Regions from separate parts of the Homo sapiens genome. Here all the other regions are linked to region 3. The links are contacts of gene promoters, found by promoter capture Hi-C in blood cells and fetal thymus (Javierre and others, 2016). All regions are on one chromosome and are shown on one strand. Each heading gives the region's core, a stretch centred on a gene start or on the middle of the fragment in contact. The rest is flanking DNA. Distances are from core to core; before and after follow the strand shown.

Evidence for each region. Contacts are between HindIII fragments. The CHiCAGO score rates a contact against its expected background, and 5 or more counts as called.
Region 1: a contact is called between a fragment that was not itself captured here and the fragment with the promoter of EFNB2 in region 3, in 1 of 17 cell types (fetal thymus). The highest score is 9.5, in fetal thymus.
Region 2: a fragment that was not itself captured here is called in contact with the fragment with the promoter of EFNB2 in region 3 in 1 of 17 cell types (fetal thymus); the score reaches 7.3 in fetal thymus.
Region 4: a contact is called between a fragment that was not itself captured here and the fragment with the promoter of EFNB2 in region 3, in 1 of 17 cell types (megakaryocytes). The highest score is 8.5, in megakaryocytes.

Annotation. Positions count from the first base shown.
Region 1 is chr13:104,310,476-104,313,304 of GRCh38, forward strand. No RefSeq gene overlaps it. Among named protein-coding and RNA genes, the nearest start is that of LINC01309, 890 kb to the left of the region's middle. The HindIII fragment of the contact is 8,470 bases long and covers 1-2,829 here.
Region 2 is chr13:103,768,611-103,771,310 of GRCh38, forward strand. No RefSeq gene overlaps it. Among named protein-coding and RNA genes, the nearest start is that of LINC01309, 340 kb to the left of the region's middle. The HindIII fragment of the contact is 2,703 bases long and covers 1-2,620 here.
Region 3 is chr13:106,534,226-106,536,953 of GRCh38, forward strand. EFNB2 (ephrin B2) reads right to left here and starts at 1,437. Exons shown (of 5, transcript NM_004093.4): 1 at 618-1,437. The coding sequence starts at 739. RefSeq lists a silencer at 1,225-1,884 and an enhancer at 2,465-2,534. The HindIII fragment of the contact is 2,990 bases long and covers 1-2,728 here.
Region 4 is chr13:103,876,776-103,879,664 of GRCh38, forward strand. No RefSeq gene overlaps it. Among named protein-coding and RNA genes, the nearest start is that of LINC01309, 450 kb to the left of the region's middle. The HindIII fragment of the contact is 340 bases long and covers 1,211-1,550 here.

The DNA.
Region 1 (2,829 bases), core at 198-2,697, 2.2 Mb before region 3:
CAAATTTAAGTTGTGTGACAAAAGAGAAACATACTTTTACTCAAATAACCATTCAATGCAGGTGATCTTGGGCAGTGAATAAGAGGCTTTTCTCCCTGGGTTGATTCAGGCATTCAGTCTCCTTCCATTTTGTAGCTCTTTTTTTTTTTTTTTTTTTTAATCAGGAATGGCCCAAGAATCCTGTGTCTGTAGTGTGACGAGGGGAAAGAGTAAGTGAATGTGGCATATCAGCTTCTTAAATACCCACACATCACTTCTGACAGGTACTGATGTGGATACTTCTAGTTGCAAGAGGCTTAGGATAGTTAGTTTCTGGATAAACAGCTATGTTGCAATGAAACTCCCATACTATAGAAAGAGCATGGATTTTGGGAACAACTAGCTCATTCAAGACTCCATCTGCCCCTCTTACAAGAAAATAACTGCATGAGTTACTTTTTACTTGTACAGAGAACATTTTCCATCCTTTCCAAGGAAGACAAAGCAAAGTCCCATCCAGTGTCTGTATCCAGATCAGCCTTGAGGAGGATGAGACGAATCATCAGCTTCCTCATCTGTTCTACATGAAAGTTAGATGACACATCAGTCTCCCCATTGTTCCCACCACCAAAATCAAATTATAGAGTGATGGAGCCTCAGGTAATACTGCATAATACCCGAGAGTCACTAGGCCATATGAAATGTGCTATGCAGGCAGGGGGAGGGCCCCCTGCCCTTGCAATGAAGGAAGTTCCCTGACAAGTCTCTGAATCTGCTCTCTGTAAGGAAGTCTCATTGATTGAAAGATTCTTCCACTATACATCCTGTCTTCTGTTTCCAAATGCTGGGAACTTCCTCCTTGTTCAGTTTCTTCCTAGACCACATCTGAAAGAATGCCATCTTGGAGAAGAGAATGCCATCTTGGAGAAGAGAATGCCATCTTGGAGAATGCCATCTTGGAGAATGGCAGTTTCCTAGCCTGATTTTGGGTTTTTCACCATCATAGGATTACTTGGGCCAGACTCAAGGTATCCTTGGGAATATAATCCCCACAAATGCCATTGGCCTTTTGAGCTATTTCCTTCTGTTTTCAGTAACCCCAGGTAAAGTCATTGTCTCTGTGTAAATCTCAAGTTGGCCAATTTCTTCCGCCTATGTTTTCTCTCTTGTAAACCTAAAGGAGACCACTTTGAAACCATTTAAAACAATTTGGTGATTAAGATTAAGATTAAAACAGATTAAGGAAACCATTAATCTGATCTTTGCCACAGGGCTTAGCTTCCCTGTTTAAGTGATGATTCTTCCCCGACCTTGTTGTTCAAAGTTTTTACTTTCAGCCTTATTCATTTCACTCTGGTATTCAGCCAGGTTCCAGTTTTACAATGTGCCACATCTCTGCATTCTCTCTTTGGCCTTTACTTCTTATCTCAAACAAATTGACTTTTGCTCAATTTTATCTCTTGTTGCATCAAGAAACTACCATCACGTGCAACTAATAGTTATCTAACCTCGTATCTTGAAGCTATGGGCTTGGCCAGCGTGTGTTCTGATTTCCAAGTTATCACAGCTGGCAGCTATTGTAATGGGTCACCACACACATATTGTGACCAATCTTTATCTTCTCAGACTCTGGTATGTTTCCTGACTGTTCATCACTTGATTATTGAAGCAGTACTGCATGTTTTCTTTTCTTTGTGTATTTGCACTCTGAGACCTATGGAGTATTAGGTAAGAAATAATAGTCACACTTAGATACATTACAGTACAATTCAGAATTTTGAAAATTAAAAAATGCTAAAAGTTTTACAGAGAAAGAACAATAACAGCTCACAGTTATTCAGCCTTTTCTATTTGAAGGCCTAAGTATCTCTTTTAACTACATAATTTAACCATTACAATGATCTGAGGAGGTAACTAATATTATTATCATTACGTTACGGGCATGAAAACTAGGGCACAAATTATTTAAATAGCTTCCTCACATAACATGTATATATAGTAAGTGGTATATCCAAAATTCAAAATCTTAACTTTTAATCCTAGTCTATGCTAATTTTTCTAGTACCTTCGAAGGAATAAGAATCAGATATATAACATATGCTTCATTATCTCCAGTGAATGCAGCAGACAGTTAAGAAATATTGTTAAAGTATCAAGGCATGATAAATTTTATCCTGTGTTTTATACACAGCTAAAGGAAAATTCATGTTTGAGAAAATATATTACTATTTCAGATATGTAAGTGATTCAAAAACATACCACAAAGATTGGTTTACATATCAGTAAATATAGATGTAATCAAAGATATACAATTATGCACTGCAAGGCAATTACATTTGACCTAAAAGCGTAGCTAACAACAATATGGTACAGTGTGAAGTAAGAAACTGAGAACAGGATATGTTATAGGTATTTAGTGTCTCTATATGGTTAGAAAAATATAAAACTTAAACATGAAATATAAAAATGTGTTACTATTGAAAGAAGAAAAATCACATCTATAAAAATTCTTGGAACTGAGTGGGTGCTAAATAACTAAGTTAGGTGAATTATTTAATAAAATAGATGCAAATGAGACAAAAACAGATGGACCTTAATAAAGTTTGAAAGTCAGACTGTGTGGTGATCAGATGGTTGAGTATCCTGACAGCCCCACACATACAGGGTGTGTGCATTGCATTCACTTACAAATTCTTGCCCACAGCTCTTCACTGAATGTTAAAAAGAAATATTGGTGGCAGAAGAAGAGAAGTAGGAGTGACTTCCTGTGAGGAAAATCTGAGGGCAGGACAGATAAACTGTAAAAACCCCTCCAGACACTCCACGTTTTACAGTGAAAACGTGTAGTGG
Region 2 (2,700 bases), core at 19-2,518, 2.8 Mb before region 3:
GGGCACCAAGTCCTGAGACTCACAGAGCCAGGTAGCCCTGGACCCAGCTCAGGAAACCATTTTTTCCTCCTAGGCCTCTGGGATTGTGATTGGAGGGGCTGCCATGAAGGTCTCTGACATGCCCTGGAGATATTTTCCCTATTTTCTTGGTGATTAACATTTGCCTCCTCATTATTTATACAAATGTCTGCATCCTGCTTGAATTTCTCCCCAGGAAACTGGGTTTTCTTTTTTATTGCATAGGCAGGCTGCAAATGTTTTGAACTTTTATGCCTTGCTTCCTTTTGAATACACTGCCACTTAGAAATGTCTTCCACCAGATACCCTAAATCATCTCTCTCAAGTTCAAAGTTCCATAGATCTCTAGGGTAGAGGCAAAATGCTTCCAGTCTCTTTGCATAGCAAGAGTGATCTTTACTCCTTGGAACTTTACTCCAGTTCCCAACAAGTTTCTCATCTCTATCTGAGACCACCTCAGCCTGTACTTAATTGTCCATGTCACCATCAGCATCTTGGTCAAAGCCATTCAACGAGTCTCTAGGAAGTTCCAAACTTTCCCACATCTTCCTGTCTTCTGAGCCCTCCAAGTCTCTGGGAAGTTCCAAACTTTCCCACATTTTCCTGTCTTTTTCTGAGCCCTCCAAGCGTTCTAACCTGTGCCTGTTACCCAGTTCCGAACTCACTTCCACATCTAGGGGTATCTTTATGGCAGCACCCCACTCTACTGGTACCAATTTACTATATTAGTTTGTTCTCACACTGCTGATAAAGATGCATGGGAAACTGGGTAATTTATAAAGGTTTAATTGACTCACAGTTCAGTATGGCTGCAGAGGCATCAGGAAACTTACAATCATGGCAAAAGGGAAAGCAAACACATGGCAGCAGCAAGGAGAAGTGCAGAACAAAGAGAGGGAACGGCCCCTTATAAAACCATCAGATCTTGTGAGAACTCACTCACTATCACGAGAATAACATGGAAGTAACCACCCCCATGATTCAATTATTTTTCATGGGGTCCCTCCCATGACACATGGGGATTATGGGAACTACAGTTCAAGAAGAGATTTGGGTGGGGACACAGCCAAGCCATATCACTTCACAAGTGTATTATACTGAAGTCTATACGTGGTAGATCACAGTGCTTATGCTTTGCCTAACTTTGTGGTATAATCAACTTCCACTCTGAGATTACAAAGAGTCAGAAATTTAAAAAAGTAAATGTGCTTAGTTCCACCCAGTCAAATAATTTTAATTACAAATTTACTTTTTAAATAAGGCACCCCTGGTGTATGGTCCTGATGAATTTTGGCACTAACTCATGTTCTGTTTGGCAATCCTTAACCTGTATTATGTAGAAACCTGAGTTTTGGGACTATGTATTGAGCAGCTTCCTGGATTAATTCAACCTAAATAGATCGGTTTTCCATTTCGGTCTCTAAGCTGCTAAGCCCTGCCATGGAAAATGGCAAATGTGTATTAGAGACCTTGCCGCAGAAGTATGACTTCCTGTGATGCTCAACAATACATCTCTTGCTAGACTCAGCCTCTTCTTCTCACTCAACAAGTATCTGTTCTTTGCTTTAGCATTTTCTTCCAGTGGATTTGTGATAGCAGCTAGCCATTCCCAAATCAGATTCTTTCAGAGCCTCCAAATGGTTGAGGCAGTTTCTATCTTGGCCAAAGTCACTTATCTCCTTTTTGCTTCATTTTCTTCACCTGTTAAATGGGATAAAAGTAGTATTCATATCATAGTGTTGCTTTGGATGAAGATTAAATGATTTATTTAATAATATACTGCATATAACATTATGTGGCACATGGTAAGTACTATACAGAAAGTACAACCTGTTGTTCCTCTTCTTATCACTGTCATCATCATCAGTAATAATAGTAACATTGGTATTAGGATTGATGACCCTAAACCTTAAACTGAGAACATTTACCTTACATTACTTGGAATTTGTTTCTTTGTATGACAAAGTTCAGATGTATGCTCTTATTTCTAATTGCACAATAAAATCTCCCAACATCATTACCAAAAATGGAGTTAGAGACAGCTGCAAAGATTCCATGTGCTCTAGGGAGAGAAACATGACCCCTCAAAACTTTAAAAATAGTTCAGACTCTTTGCCCAAGTCCCTGAATAACTTAGGTGTAATATAAAGATAACTGCCTTCCAAAAGCAAACACAGAATTTTACTCTCTTGGCTACAGGAAAGATACTGGGCAATTCTGAGGTCCTTTCCCAATTGACATAGGCAAAAGTCCCTTGTGAAATGTCCTAGGGCCACAGACCAGGAACATTCAGGTTACATATAATCGGTATGTTTTTATTATTATTAACAGGTTGTTGCAAAGGACAGTTAACATGTGAGATCTTTAACTTTCTGTTATAATTAAACCTAGTAAAATTTGAGGATAGAAGACCAAAGTTATCAAAGACTGAATGGGAATGTGATACCACAAATGGTAATTCTCAAAGGAAGGGATGGGGTGAACAAAGCTATATCTTACTGGATGGATAGTCCAGTTTATGTAGATTATGTAGACAGTCCAGATTATGCAGAAGATGATAGAAAATAAACAGAAGATGTATTTATCTTCTCTAACAAATACAAGCTTTAAAAGGTATCTCCCTAAGGGAGAGTCAATTGCATTTAATGGCAAAGCACCTACCTTGCAATCTGAAACTGCTTC
Region 3 (2,728 bases), core at 187-2,686:
CGGAGGAAAGGGCTCGACGCCCGAGTTCTCCTGCGAAGCAGGCGAGCTCCCCGCGCACCCTCGGGCTGGCGGCGCGGTGCCAAGGCGCCCCGGCTCCAGGGCTCTGCGGGCAGCGTAGCGACTCCAGGCTCCCCTCTCCAGAACGCGCTTCGCTGCCAGCGTCCTGCCACCCCGGTCGCCCGCCCGCGGGCCCCGGACCACGCCGCCCGCGCTCCCCGCGAATGCAGCATCTCCGCCTCTCTCCAGAGCCCACCAGTCCCCGCGTGCCGGCCAGCCTAGATTGTGGCCATGTCCTTCGTCCTCGAAAACAGGAGAGGGTCAGGTATCGCCATCGGACACCTTCCCGGACTTGACACCCGAGCCGATAGTAGCTTTTAGCGCCTGGGAGCGTTCGGGGGAGGAAAGGCGGAGAGACCGTCCGTTCCAGCGGGGCTCGGGTTGGAAAGCCGAGCGAGGAGTCTCCACCTAGTGAAATGGGGCGGGGGTTGGGGGTGGGGGACGGGGAACCGAGGTTCCAGAAACAGGCTCCGAGGCCCCGCGGACTGACCCCTCCTCCCGCCCGGACGGCGCGGCGGACCCCGGGGCGGGGACATAGGGGGATCGCGGACGCCACTTACTTGGAGTTCGAGGAATTCCAATAGATAGGCTCTAAAACTATCGATTTGGAAATCGCAGTTCTGCATAAAACCATCAAAACACCCCAGCAGTACTTCCACACGGAGTCCCTTCTCACAGCCATGGCGAAGCCACTCCCAGCTCCGCGCACTCCGGGCCAAGAAGGGACTGACGGGACGCAGGCTGGGACCCCCAATCCTCCGGGGCAGACTGGCGGGGAAGACGGCGTGCGCCCGCAGGCAGCTCCGAGGCGCGCTGCGCAGCTCCAGCGGTCGCCGGGCCAGGTGCGCTCGCTCTCCGGGGCCCTCAGGGCGCGGGGCGGGAGCGCACGCGCGGGGCGCGGCGGCGCGGCGGACTCGGGGTTCCGGGGCGCCGCGCCGGACGCAGCTCGGACGGCCGACTCCCGTGCGGCTCCAGGGTGCCGGGCCGGCCGCGGCTGGCGGGTGGGCGCGGGGCGGGTGCGGGCTGGGACACAAAGACCCGGAGCGGAGACGACCGGCGCGGGCGGCGGGCGCTGCGCCCCGAGCGGGGCCGCCTGTGACTATAGATCCAGTGCAGCGGGCAGCGGCCCGAGCGCGCGGGCGCCGCGTCGGCGCGGTTCCATGTCCCGGAGCACGGAGCGGAGTAGGGCGCCTCCGGGCGCGCAGGAGCCTTCTCAGTCCGCGCGGCTCCCGGCCCCCAGGGCAGGAAAGAGGGAGCTCGGTCCCCGCCGCGGGCTCCGGACGCGCGCGGGCCTTTGTGTGCGGGGAGGGCGCCGGGACCCGCTGCGTGCGCAGCTCCTCGCTCCGGCCGGCGCCGCGGTCCCCGCCGAGGAGAGTCAGCGCGGCCGCCGCGCTGTCAGAGCGCTATAAACGCGGGGCCCCGCCCCGCCGCGCGAAGCCCATTGGCCCGCGGCTCCGCGGCCGCGCGCTGGTTGGACGGCCGGTCCGTCCGTCCGCCATCCCCTCCCGACATTGGGTGCCGCGAGGCGGGGCTCGGGCTGACAGGTGAGCCCCGCCCCTGGCTCCCGCGGGCGGCGGGAGCGGAGCAGAAGCCGGGCAGGAGAAGCGCTCAGCGCGTGCACAGGGCGCCCCCGGGGCGGCGAGAGGCCTTCTGGGCGCGGTGCAGACGTGGAAACAGCGACGGCCGAGTAGCGGGCCACCTGTCTCCGCGCCCGGGGGCGCCTTCCCCCTCGGCGGAATCAGAGGGCGCGGCTTTCCCTCGAGCAGTGCGGAAGGCAGCAGGCTCCGCTCGGCGTCCCTTCTCCGCAGATGCGGCGCTGCCCCGCGTGCAAGACTTGCACTCCGCGCGCACCCTTAGAGCTCCCGGCTTCTGCGCGCTTCTCCCGACGCCTCTCGGCGAGGGCTTCTCACTTGATTTTGGTACCAATCGCCTACGGCTCAGTTTCAGTCAGTGGGGCCGGGAATTGCAAGACGATTCCTGCGACGCGGCGCCGGAATTTGCAGCTCTAATCAGGGCCTGAGCATCGTCGCCTCCCGCCTTCTCTGCGGGCGTCTCCCTTCCCTCCTGGCCCCCCGGGAAGGTGGCGCCCCTGGAGCTTTCCCCGCGTGTCGCCGGCACAGGCACGACGCGGGGACCGTCTCACTAGCCTCTAGGAGACACGCGCGCTTCCCAAAGTGACCAGAGATTTAGAGGGTGTGAGATGGAAAAGTCAAGGCATGTGCTTCTCACTCGGCGTCTGCAAGACCCCAGAGCAGAGCTGGCAGGAACTCCTCGCTACTTTCCCGGTCGAGCGCCGGTGCTGACGCTCGTCCGTGACTTCCACGGAGCCACAGCGCCCACTAGCGGCCAGCTTTGCTTCTCCGCATCTCGAGCGCTCTGCGGTCCACCGACCCGGATCCAGCATACTGCAGCATCTAATCAAGTCACAGTTCCAAGGAAAATCTTTTTATATGTCCAACAGTAGGAAGAACACGGTAGAAATAAGGCACAGTGCAAATGTACGATTCAGTATGAAAAATTAAAATATACTGTATGCCCACGTTTTTTTTCAATTTAATGCCGTCCACCCCAGGATTTATGTTTCAAACACAAACTGGGCAGTAATTCTACAAATTATGTATTTTTAAAACAAAGTATCCACTACGCTAAATTTAAAAATGCATATGGTAAA
Region 4 (2,889 bases), core at 131-2,630, 2.7 Mb before region 3:
GCCTTAAGCAAGTCCAGAAGGAGGTGAGTCACATTGACTGGACACGTTGCCGTTGTTAACAAAATGGCGCTTCTCTTAGCAAGGAAGAGAAGAATGCAAATAAAGTGGGTAACACCCATATATGTCAGCTGCAAAGAGATTTCCTTAATGTAACTAATGAATAGTACTGGTAATTAAATTTTTGATGCAATCTTATATATAAATATATGCTTCTCTCTTTTTAAAAAATGCCTCACTTAAACCATGTAACTAAGTTGTTGCTTTACCAATGTTAATGGACATTGCTCTAGACACAGTTTATCAAAGTATGTTAATTTTATAAATCAATTAAGCCCCATGATAAATAAAAATAAAAAGTAGGGGAACAAGGAGTTGCAAGGTAAGCCGAAATTATTCTGTTGGCCCTCATTGCAGCATTTATTGATTCATATGCCGTAAGAGAAATTGCAAATTCTGACTTTATAGAGCCTCACATTTTCTTCCTTATACAGTTTCCAGGCAGTTTTAGGCTCTTAGAGAAACATTCTCAGCATTGACGTGTCAATGAAGTTTAAACTATTAGTACCACTTTCGTGTACTTTAGCAACATTTTCTGATCTCAATCCCGTAGTTCAGTGAGCAGAAGCATACAATGTGGCAGTTATTTCATATTTCCATGATAGTTCAATTTTTTTATTGAGGCGATTCTAAGAAAAATGTATAAGCAGTGGCAAATTAAGGAGCTGGAAAGAAAATAAAAACGTTTCTTTTCTGTTCCACAACTGGAATTAAGTTTAAGCTGAATTACTGAGTCTTCACAAAGGCAAAATTTTTGACTCTTAATTTTGTTAATCTATTTCAGCTTATTTCTCAGGATAAATATATCATCTTTTTGTGCTAATTAGTACTTTCATAGAGAAAAAGTTTAATGATTAGTTATTATGCTTACCATTATTTTTATTTTAGCAAGGGTATTAATATTTTTTATCACTTACAGATTTTTTTCTTTTCAATATGAAAGACTTTGCAAAATTATTTTGACCTGGAAGTTCAGCGTATTATTGTTTGTTCCCTTATTATTATCCATTTTACTTTCCTTATTCCATTGTTGTTATTTAATTTAAAATATTTCATACGGGATGGCAAACCATGAACCTGGAAATAGAAAGCTGATGCATTTAAATAAGGTGCACTTGATATGGTAGCACCCAAATAGCCTGGAGGCTGTATAAGCTTTTCTGGACAGTATGATAATCAATTCATAAATTATGTACACCTGAGCCCTTTTCACCTTAGGCAGTTTCAGGATGTCCAAAAAAACTTCAAACTTAGCTCTTTCAAATCAATGGTTTAAGCCATCTTAATAACCAATTAGCATCACTGCAGAAATAGTGTAATCCATTATGAATATTTAAGTATTAACAGTTTAAGAATCTTAAAAGATTTTATGCCAAATGTGTAAACATACTCTTTATCTTTCTAGCTTTAAACTCTTCCTCCTTTGCTGCTGTCTGTGTGCATTTTTACCAAAGGTAGAGAGAATTTATTCTCTTAACGAAGAGAGAAATGGAAGCTTGCCCTCATAACCTTTGTTATAACAGAATACTAGACCTTGAAGAAAAGAGAAATTGTAAAGAAACATTGAAAATGAAGCGTTGGTCAACTGTGGCTCATGAGAAGAAAACCATGCTGGTCAAAGATTTTAAGAATTTTTGCCATTTTGGCTGAAACCCCCACCCCAAAACACACACCCAAATCAAGAGATTTCCACATGAAATGTATCACCCCATGCAGTGGCATAAATGTGGTGGGTGAGAAGGGAACATCTCTTTTTCTTGACTGTGCATGTTTTATAATAAAAATACTAGATTGCCAATTAATTGACCTTAGCTGTTGTAAAATTACTAATCCCTAAGTATCTTTTATTGGAGAGTTAATTATTTTCTCAATATTAAGCAATCTTCTTAAGACTCTTCAAGAAATTGAAATAAACATGAATTCATATAGAGCTAATTTTCAATAAAAAGTGAAATGATTATAAAAGTGAATAGAATCTCAGAAGAAATAAGGGAGGGTATTAGAATAACCCATTGATCAAATCAATGAAATTTGAAACATGAATGAAACTTATACGTGAATGTTCTCTGTGAATTACATTCATTACCTTAGTAGGAAGCCTGTTTCTTAGTTTCATAGATAGAAAGCTGACAAAATATTTTGTTTGGTTTTTAATTCATTCACGATTGTCAATTGTGCATTTACTTTGTGGTGAGTCTATTTTTTAACCCTGTTCTTTGAAGTGTTAGAACAAAGATATTCCTTTGTTTCCACAGGGAAGACTTTAAATGTTTGAAATTAGTCACTATGTTTTCTTCTTTGAATATGGTCTTTCTTCCAAGTTAACAATCTAATATGTCCAGTTGTTTTTTATATAAAATTCTATTTTTATCCATCAATCTCCTGTTGACATATCAAGCCCAGTATTTCAGATATTTATACTTAACATTCCAAGAAGAGGCTATGCTTTTCACATTTATGTACACTCAACTTTTATTAAGGCAACATATGCTTTTCTTTTTAGCAGCTTCTTGGCACTGTTGGTGATTATTGAGTTACAGCCAAGTCAGGTCTGATAACCACAAACTACTGTCTGCAGTATTTACTACTTTACATTTCTTTTTCTCTCTCTCTCTCTCTTTTTTAATCTAAAGCATGCCTTGAGATTAGTTTTTATCAGATTCCATGTTCTTGGTATTCACTCAGCATTCCAGTCTTTTGAGATAACCTGAATCTCAATTTTGTCATCAACTATTACATTGTTTACGCCTTCCAGTGTTGTATCCTCTCAAATTTGAAAAGTGACATGTGCAGCCTTGTTCATAATCTGCACCCTGTCTCTCCTTCACAGGT